Regions from separate parts of the Homo sapiens genome. Here region 2 is linked to region 1. Evidence: promoter capture Hi-C in human tissues and cell types (Jung and others, 2019). All regions are on one chromosome and are shown on one strand. Each heading gives the region's core, a stretch centred on a gene start or on the middle of the fragment in contact. The rest is flanking DNA. Distances are from core to core; before and after follow the strand shown. Region 1 holds the start of GXYLT2 (glucoside xylosyltransferase 2). Region 2 overlaps PPP4R2 (protein phosphatase 4 regulatory subunit 2).

Region 1 (5,294 bases), core at 1,822-4,321:
TAAATGAAATTCCTCCTAAACCACAAAAATTTAACCCAAGCAGAATTAGGAAAGCAATAAAGGAGACCGAGCAGAGATCTTTCCTCCTGCTCCCTCACAACTTCAGAATCTTCTGTTGCCATTTCTGTGGAGGTAGCAAGAGAAACAATAAATAAGTCCCAGAAAATGTCAACTGTTTATGCATTTGAGCCTGAGACTTCCTGTGGCTTTTGTTTTTTACTCCTTCCCCAGTTTTAAAATTTTGTTCTGTATTCCTATGGTGTTGGCCATAATTTCCACGATAATCTAAGAGATATGTTCAAAAGAAAAATGGCTTCAAGGGTACTGTTACTCCTGGAAATAGAAACACTCCTTCCCTAAAACATCCATTTGGATTCTGTTCATGATCTCCTCCTAGTCAGAGACACTTTGTTCAGATAGACACAAAAAGATGCTGCGCCACTGTTCTCGACACCTTGAAGAATGAGACAGATCCAAAAATCTACAGTGTTTCTTTAAAAGACATCTCAGTAAAATTACGAATTGCAGGCAAGTCTATGGCCTGACATCAGCATAGCAGGTAAGTGCTCAACCTGAGCCCACACTGCCTGGATCTTTATCCTTCTCTACCAGGTTACCTGTGAACCTTGGACAAACTGCTAACCCTTGTGCAATACTTTCCTCATCTGAAAAGTGGGGATACCATTGGTGCTTACTTTGCAGAGCAGGTTCTCAAACTTTGTTGTGCATGAGAAACAATGGGAGGGACGTGTTAAAACACGGTTGCTGACCCCCCAAAGCTTCTGATTCTGTAGGGTTGGGGTGGGGCCCAGGAATCTGCATTTCTAACAAGTTCCCAGATGATGCCTGTGCCACTGGTCTGAAGTCCACACTTTGAGAACCACTGTCAAAGGGTTATGGTTGGGCCCGGCGCGGTGGCTCACGCCTGTAATCCTAGCACTTTGGGAAAGGCTGAGGCAGATGGATCACTGGGCTCAGGAGTTCCTGGCCAATATGGTGAAACCCCGTCTCTCTACTAAAAATACAAAAATCAGCTGGGCATGGTGGCACACGCCTGTTTGCCAGCTACCTGGCAGGCTGAGGCACAAGAATCACTTGAATCTGGGAGGCCTGAACCCGGGAGGCAGCGGTTGCAGTGAGCAGAGATCGCAGCACGGCACTCCAGCCTGGGCGACAGAGGAAGACTTTGTCACAAAAAAAAAAAAAAAACAAAAAAAAAACCAAAAGAAAAACAGCGGTGGGGGGGAAGGTTATGGTGTGGATTATGTAGTTGTATATGTTAAGTGTTAACTGTGACTATTTGTATGTACTGCGGTTAGCACTGTCCCTGGCAATAGGTTAGCGATGTTAAGGATGACAGTTATTATTATCTTACCAGTTGTCCCATCAAACTTAGCAATCATATTAAACTTGCAGTTAAACCCTAATTAATCTCTTACAAGAAACTCCAGTATAGAAGAGGGGAAATCCTATTAATTTCCTAACAAAGATATCCTTAAAGACTGTATACATCCAGAAAGGGCTGTAAAGTGTTATAAGTACTTTAAAGCGACAGATTGTTGGGGTTTTTTCCCCCTAAAACTTGTCAGTACCCATTTGTACTGAGACAGAAGGGAAACAAAGGCTGACACAGCTACTTCTTGAGGTTTCGTGTCTTTTAGTTACAGTAAAGGCACCAAAGAGATTTAGTCATTATGGTCAAAAATAATTTTTCAACTCCTTTCAGGTTGAAATTAAGGAGCCCAGCAAACAAGGACGTTGCAATGGCAGTTAGAAACAACAGTTTTGAAAGGGCAGATGAAACAGACTCGCTACAAGACAAGGGGATTGTTGAAAAGCCCTCCACAACAAAGGAAATGAACTCAAATCCCTAACCTGCGGGGCGTTCCAGCAACCCTGAGGCCAAAAATAAAGCTCTCTGATGAAAAGCCTCCGCGTGTTAGGCTTTGTGTAGGGAAAGAGAGTATCAAACAGAAGGTCGAAGGTTAAGTTGTTTTTCTTGTAGGAGGACCCTTTGACCACACTCGAGCCTGAAACAGAATGAGGATCTGGAAACCCCCACTCTGTCTTTTCTGTGCCACGCATCAGTCCTTTCAAGGAGAAAACTTCTTTTTAATAAACTTAGGTCAAGTGTCCCTTCTGTTCTAAGCATGGGGGTACTCGAGGTTAAATGAGAGGCTGCCAGTCCTTGGTAAACATCTAACTTTTCCAACTCAACCATATCTAAGGTTTCGGTAAAATTCTCCAGTGAAACATGAGAATTAGATAAAACATTCTTGCACCGTGATGGCTTTTGACAAATTAAACAAAGGGTGCATGTTTGCAAGAGTGCAAAAATACGCCTTGCCTTGACAGTTAAAAAATGTAATGTACGAAACCACTTTCCTTGACACTTCAAAAAATGTACGTGATTATCAACACCGAGCTGTTAGGGGGACTCCACCAAGGTGGGTCTTCTTTTCTATCGGGTTAAGAAACAGAAGTGGGCAGCCCGTGGGTGAAACTTGGAAATCTGTCTCTCCAGCGCAAAGCCTCCCTTGGACTTGGCACGGGTGTAGGGAGCGAGACACGGGTCCGCAGATGGGATTCTGGGGTTGCCACGACTCACCTCGCCAACTTCTCCAGTCTCGCAGCGCCCCGGCGGCCCGCTCGGGGGCGCGGACGCGGGGGCCGGCGCCTCCGAACTCCCGGGCTGGCCCCGGGGAGGGCGCCCGGCCCCGGCCAGCGCGCGGGGACAGGCGCGGGGTGGCGCTGCGGGGCGGACGCGGGGCGCGCGGGCAGCGCTGGGGGCTCAGCGCGGCCAGCGCGCAGGGACAGCAGCGCCAGCAGCAGCGCGGCCAGCGCGAGCAAGAGCAGCGCCGCCGCCTTGCTGCGGAGCTTCATGGTGCGGCGCGGCGGCGGCGGCGGCCCCCAGGCGGCTCGGCCCCTCTGCGCATCGCGGCGGCGGCAGGATGAGTGCAGCAGCGCGCGGCGGTCGCCTCCTCCGCCCGCCCGCCGGGGACTGGGGTCGTGGCGGCCGGCGGGCGGCCGGCGGCGGCGGCGACGGCGAAGGAGGAGGAGAGAGAGGAGAGGAGGGGGAGGCGGTGAGAGCTGGGTTACAGGAGGAGCAGCCTGCGCCTACCGTACTGTGTGGAGTAGCCGCCCCTCCGCCCGCCCGCAGCCAGGCTCTCGGGCTTCTGGTAGCTCAGACTCAAAACCACTTCATTCATTCATTCGTTCGTTCGTTCGTTTACTTCCCCATTCACTCACACACCCATGCCATCCACTGTTCCCGCTGATTCTCTCATACCATGATTCACTTATTTGTTGATGTATTCCATGTGCTTCCTCCTTATTTATTTTATCCATCTATCCACACATTTGTGCACTTATCCACACATCCTTTCAGGCAGGAACATCTCTGTCCTGTTTGCCCAGTGCAGGGATCTGCGGGTGGTGGTGCCCAATAAATATCTGTTGAATAAACCCCTATTGCCGCCTCTGTCTTGCCACCTCCCTTTTTCCTGGAGGAGGACATATTCAACAAGGACACATGCAAAATAAGGCAAAGCGAGTAAAAGTAACACGTGATTAGTAGTTGGGGTTTCAGACTCAAAACACCAAAGTAGAACTTGGGACAGCTAGACTGGACCGAACCGATCCATGTAGTCTGAAGAAATTAGAGAATGAATTTCAAAGTTTGGATTTGAAATCTGACACTGTGCTTAACTGGCTTGGTGATCCTGAGGAAGCTGCACAACTTTCTTAAGCCTTAACTTCCTTACGTGCAAAATGGGAATGACAATACTGCTCACTACAGAGGCGTTTTGTGAGCATTAAATTAAATAATGCCTTCAAAGAAACTAGCACAGTGCCTGGCTCACAGTCGGTGCCCAATAAAAGTTCTGTAATGATTAGTTCAATAAAACATAGCTTATAATATACACATAAACACACATTTTATTTTCTTTCTGGCACAGATTTGAGATAGAGTAATAATTTCACAACACAATGTAAGAATGGCTTCTTTGGAGACTTTAACAGCTGCAATCGCCAGATGAAGGTCGTAATTTCCAGACGATTCTTCCAGGGGATCCCCAGTTACAAATCTGAAACATTAGGACACATCCTCTTATGACTCACGGTGAACTGACAGCCAGGACTCCATTAACTCTCTTTTCAGCACACCACAGAACAAAGAACACTAGTTAAGTTATAACAACGTCCCTGAGTTTTTCAGTTTTTTTTTTTTTTTTTTTTTTGGATCACTCTGTAGCCCAGGCAGGAGTGCAATGGTGCAATCTTAACTCACCGCAGCCTCCGCCTCCCGGGTTCAAGCCATTCTCCTGCCTCAGCCTCCCAAGTAGCTGGGATTACAGGCTGCGCCACCACACCCGGCTGATTTTTGTATATTTAGTAGAGACGGGGTTTCACCACGTTGGCCAGGCTGGTCTTGAACACCTGACCTCAAGTGATCCGCCCGTCTCGTTCTTCCAAAGTGCTGGGATTACAGGCATGAGCCACCGCGCCCAGCCCGTCCCTGAGTTTCTACAAGATTCCATGTTGCTTTATAAATAATCTAAAATTTAGTTATATTCTGAATTATTCTCATATTAGCATTTTATTTTAATTCCTTGAGAACCCATTGTATTAAAAGTTCTAGAGATGAGAATATTTAGTAATTTGGAAGCTCTTGCCAAGCAGACATCTAGGAAATGGCAGGGTGCAAGTTCAGTGTGGGGGACATGTTGTAGGTGAGTAAGCGCAAAGAATCCATTAGTTCTCAAAGATGAGGGAGAAGGTTCCATCCTACCAGGAAGCATCTGGAATTGTGGGAAGGCTGACAGGTTCTACTAGCATATGCAAAACCTCCTGCAATGCTCAGGACATACCAACAACGAAAACTATCCTGGCCCAATGTGGGACCCTGTTGAGAAACACTAGGCCAGGCTAAGGCATGATGTTTAGATCTTTCAGGTTTAGAAATGGCCACCACTCTGTTGACATGTGGCCCAGAGAAGCAGGCATTCCCAACTCTGTCTTGCCCCCTCCCTTCTACCTCTAGGAGGACAGATGCAACAAGGATAAACAAAGGCAGAGTGAGTCAAAGTAACACTTGATTAGTAGCCAGGGTTTTAGCCTCAAACACCAAAGAATCATGGACCAAAGAGAGGACTCAGTTTTCTTGAACCTCACTGAAGCCAAAAAAAAAAGCCTAATCTGCCTCCTTCCACTGAGTCCAAACTCAACTTTTGGATTTGTTTGGATTGCTCTGATTGGTGGAAAACTACATCCTCTAATTTTTTTTTCTTTGG
Region 2 (5,294 bases), core at 2,047-4,546, 130 kb before region 1:
AAAAAAAAAAAAAAAAAAAAAGAAACAATGAACCAGTAAAGCCAGTTAACAGAATGGGTGACAGAGTGAGACTCTGTATTAAAAAAAAAAAATAATAAAAATAAACAATGAACCAATAAAGCTAGTTAACAGACACCATATTTAAATAAACACAAAAACATCTAGGACATTCATATTATTTATTTCTCAAAATTATACTTTACCGTCTCAAATAGAATTCTGATAGGTAAAACTAAGACTTGGTTAAAGACCTTAATTGGTGGTCTTACCATTTTTTTAAATTTCAGAGGTCCTAGAAGAAAACTTCAAGACACTTTTAAAATCTTCAGGTATGCTTTCTCCTATAAAGCAGTCTCTCAACCTTGACACTACTGACATTTGGGGCCAGACAATTCTTCATTGCTGGGGAGTGTCCTAAGCAATATAGGATGTTTGGAGGCATCCCTGCCCTCTACCCCACTAGATGCCGGCAGCATGCCCCCAAACTGTAGCAACCAAAAACATCTCTAGACATTGTCAGCCCTGGTTTAGAACCACTGCTATAAGGCATTGAAAAAAAAAAGTGAACGAGAATATTATAGAATTAAAGGAAAATGTGGAAAAAAAACTCCCACATCTCAAAGAATCTCACACATCTTCAAATAATTTCAGATCTAATTTATTGTCAAGGGTTATTATTAGCTTAATTAAACAGCATTGGTCAAATTAAATGTTTTATTTATATTTAGATTAAAATATGTCATTTAAAACTATGTTTCAGATAGTAGAGGCCAGGCATGGTGGCTCACACCTGTATTCCCAGCACTTTGGGAGGCCGAAGCAGGCAGATACTTGAGGTCAGGAGTTCGAGACCAGCCTGGATAACATGGTGAAACCCTGTCTCTACTCAAAAAAACAGGGCGGGTGCAGTAGTTCACGTCTGTAATCCCAGCACTTTGGGAGGCCAAAGCAGGTAGATCACGAGGTCAGGAGATCGAGACCGTCCTGGCTAACATGGTGAAACCCCGTCTCTACTAAACACACAAAAAAATTAATCGGGCATGGTGGCGGGAGCCTGTAGTCCCAGCTACTCAGGAGGATAAGGCAGGACAATGGCATGAACCCAGGGGGTGGAGCTTGCAGTGAGCCGAGATGGCGCCACTGCACTCCAGTCTGGGCGACACAGCGAAACTCCGTCTCAAAAAAAAAAAAAAAAGCTGGGCATGGTGGCACACGCCTGTAGTGCCAGCTAATCGAGAGGCTGAGGTAGAAGAATCGCTCGAACCAGGGAGGCAGAGGTTGCAGTGAGCCGAGATCATGCCACTGCACTCCAGCCTGGGCGACAGAGCGAGACCCTAAAAAAAAAAAAAAAAAGACAGTAGGCTGGGCACGGTGGCTCATGCCTGTAATCCCAACTTTGGGAGGCCAACGCGGGTGGATTACTTGAGGCCAGGAGTTCAAGACCAGCATGGCCAACATGGCAAAACCCTGTCTCTACTAAAAATGTAAAAATCAGCTGGGCATGATACACACCTGTAATCCCAGCTACTCAGGAGGCTGAGGCAGGAGAACTGCTTGAACCAGGGAGGCAGAGGTGGCAGTGAGCTGAGATCAAGTCACTGCACTCCACCCTGGGCAACAGAGAGAGACTCTGTCTCAAAAAAAGATAGCAGAGAGCAATCTTAGATCTTGTGGGTAGTGTTTTCATTCCTTCTGTTTTATAGGACTTTATGACATTTCTGAGATCTCAGAGTGCTCTCAGTATTTATTTTCTTCCTATATCCTAAATGGCTTGCTTTGGCATGTTTATTAATAAACAGGCCAGGAGTATATTTCGAGGAAAAAAAATTACGACTGGGTGAGGCTGCTTACATCTGCAATCCCCGCAGTTTGGGAAGTTGAGGCAGGTGGATCACTTGAGGCCAGGGTTTCGAGGCCAGCCTGGGCAACACAGCAAGACCCCATCTCATTAAAATGAATAAATAAATACACAAGGATTCCAACTAATAAATGATAAAGCAATGCTAGATTTAGAATATTATCACTTTCAAATCTCCAATGAAACAAATGATACAGGCAATTTTTTTAGTCTAGCCAAAAAATCTGAAAAAGGAACAACTCTATCAATGAGGCATCAGATAGAAAATTACAAGTGGCAATAAAAAAAAACTATAAGATGTTAGCACAAAATAAAACAATGCAAATTAAATAAAGCATTTTTCACCTACCAGATTTTCAGATTTAAAAGCCTAATAATGGGCTCTGCACAATGGCTCATGCCTGTAATCCCAGCACTTTGGGAGGCCAAGGTGGGAGAATTGCTTGAGTTCAGCAATTCTCAGTTGAGACCAGCCTGGGCAACCAGCCTGAGCAAGACCCCATCTCTACAAAAAAATTAATAAATTAGCTGGGTGTGGTGGTGCATACCTGTAGTCCTAGCTACTGGGGAAGCTCAGGTGGGAAAATCACTTGAGCCTAGGAGTTTGAGGTTGCAGTAAGCTATGATCATGCCACTGCACTCCAGCCTGGGCCAGAGTGAGACCCGGTCTCAAAAATAAATATAAAAATAAAAATAATTTTAAAATCTGAATAATGCTTGGTGCTAACATGGATATAGAGATAACTTTCATATACTGCTAGTAGAAGCACATACTGAACAAGTTTTTTGGAAAGCCAGCTGGCAGTATCTGTCAAACATAGTAACGTACATAATCATGAACCCATAAATCCCACTCTTACATCTGTGCCAGTATATTAACTTAAGCACTGTTTGAATTGGTTGGTAACTGTAAACTGCCCAAAAAACCATCAAAGAAGACAGGTTAAATAAAGAACACCCAAAACAATAAAATATTATGCAGCCCATGAAGACAACGAGGTAAATTTTTGTGTTTTGGTAAGATATCCAAATACAAGCCCGGGCGCGGTGGTTCATGCCTGAAATCCCAGCATTTTGGGAGGCCAAGGCAGGCGGATCAACTGGGATCAAGAGTTTGAGACCAGCCTGGCCAACATGGCAAAACCCTGTCTCTACTAAAAATACAAAAAAATTAGCTGGGCACGGTGGCACGTGCCCGTAATCCCACCTACTCGGGAGGCTGAGGCAGAAAAATTGCTTGAAACCAGGAGGTGGAGGCTGCAGTGAGCTGAGGTTGTGCCACTGCACTCCTGCCTAGGCAACAGAGCAAGACTGTCTCAAAAAAAAAAAAGAAAAAGAAAAAAGGTATCTAAATAAAGAAAATAACAAAAGGCAAACTGAAGTTTCATGGCATTTAACAAGAGGATTAACACACATACACTTATGTGTACAGAACATTCTGTTAAGAATATACAAGAAATAGGTAACAGTATAGTTTGATTTTTTTTCTTACATTTTTGTAAAATGAGACAGAAACATCTAAAGCAGTATCAATTTCAATCATCTTTGCACATGAGTTTTCCACATTTATAGGCACAAGAATTACCTAATTTGTGTGATCCATTACACTCAAAATGCAGTTATTCTCACCAAATTCCTCCTTAACCAAAATGAAGATGTAAATAGAAAAAGCATATATCAAGATATTCTCCATATTTTAAATCCAAGTTTTTAAAGCTACTTTTAAAATTTTACCTGTTCATCTAACCATCTAATATTTTGTCAGAAATAATTTTTAAAGTAACCACATGCTGGCTATGGCACTGATTTTAGCCATATCCTACCAAAAGCAACATAGCAAAACCAAAGACCACACACAATATTTACAAGAAAACTGAATGACAACTTAACAAGGTATCATCCCCAAAAACTCTCTACTATGAACAAGCAGGCAGGGCAAGACTAGAAAAGTATCAGTATCTACACAAGAGGAAAAGAAACACGACTTGTCTTGCAATGACCCTACAAACATGAAAATCTCAAATTCACCACTAGTATTCACTGGTAAGGGTGGTTTAAAAAAAAAAAAAAAAAAGCCTACATTCTACCTACATTTAAGATTGCTCCTTACAGCAAGACACACTCTAGTATGCAAAAGCCCTAGAAAAGGTGGACCAGTCTCCAGTTAACAAATCTCTTTGAAACAAAAACGGCCACCACCTCAAAAGCCACCCTGGAAATCACCATAGACAACAGTATCCCTAATAAAACAATCTCTAAAAATATTAAATTCCCTTTAGTTGCACAATTTTAAATAGAAATACAGTGCGCCCTCTGTATCTACGAGTTCCACATTCGCGAATCCAACCAACCTCAGATTGAAAATATTTGAGAAAGGGCTGGGCGCAGTGGCTCACGCCTGTAGCCCCAGCACTTTGGAGGGCAGAGGTGGGTGGATCATGAGGTCAGGAGATCAAGACCATCCTGGCTAACATGGTGAAACACAGTCTTTACTAAAAATATTTAAAAAATTATCCAGGTGTGGTGGCAGGCGCTCGTAGTCCCAGCTAAGCGGGAGGCTGAGGCAGGAGAATGGCGTGAACCCGGAAGCCAGAGGTTGCAGTGAGCTGAGATTGCGCCGCTGCACTCCAGCCTGGGTGACAGAGCAAGACTCCGTCTCAAAAAAAAAGAAGGAGAAAATATTTGAGAAAAATTGTACTGAAATGTGGAGACATTTCTCGTCATTACTTCCTAAACAATATAAGGTATAAAAACTATTTACGTATCATTTATATTGTATTACGTATTATAAGTAATCTAGAGATGCACCAAGGATGTGCAAAGGTTATATGCAAATATTATACCACTTTACATCAGGGACTGAGCATCCACAGATTTTATGTCCAAAGGAGGTCCTGGAACCAATCACCCACATATAACAAGGGACAACCGTACTTTGCCATTAGTTGATAGAAAGCTACCTCACTCTCCCCCTTCCTCCCAGATATACACAATAGTGCAAAAATTACAAATGTTAAGACCTCGCACTTTCCTTAAATTTCAAATTCTATAGCATATATTTTTCTCCAGTTTCATCACCTACAAATGGGAATATTAGAACTACCTCCCAATATTGGTGTGGTAAGATTTTTACTTAACTGAGAATAACAAATCCAAGATGCATATATTAAATAGAAAGCTTAGAGTCACTTCAAGTTAAAATACACGTATCAGTCTCATCACCTGTATGTTTCAAATTTATGTCTCTACAAAATTACAATTACTTAAAAGTTTTTTTCCTTGAGGTGACTGGAAAATAGTCAAAATTACAAATGTTAAGGGTACATCAGTCATCTATCTTATTGACCCACACTCAACCTTCTCATAATTGCCCCAAAATACCCCACAGTACATGAGGTCAAGCTTAGGTAAGCCACTTGAAAAATCTCAGAAATTA

Evidence for each region. The method cuts DNA at HindIII sites, captures the fragments that hold promoters and counts their contacts. A contact is called where the count stands out against the background at its distance.
Region 2: a contact is called between a fragment that was not itself captured here and the fragment with the promoter of GXYLT2 in region 1, in 3 of the 25 tissues and cell types used here (bladder, dorsolateral prefrontal cortex and neural progenitor cells).

Annotation. Positions count from the first base shown.
Region 1 is chr3:72,885,823-72,891,116 of GRCh38, reverse strand. GXYLT2 (glucoside xylosyltransferase 2) reads right to left here and starts at 3,071. Exons shown (of 7, transcript NM_001080393.2): 1 at 2,609-3,071. The coding sequence starts at 2,883. RefSeq lists silencers at 2,572-2,701, 2,802-3,031. The HindIII fragment of the contact is 12,200 bases long and covers 1-5,294 here.
Region 2 is chr3:73,011,541-73,016,834 of GRCh38, reverse strand. All of the region lies in intron 2 of PPP4R2 (protein phosphatase 4 regulatory subunit 2), which reads right to left. Among named protein-coding and RNA genes, the nearest start is that of PPP4R2, 17 kb to the right of the region's middle. The HindIII fragment of the contact is 7,065 bases long and covers 1-5,294 here.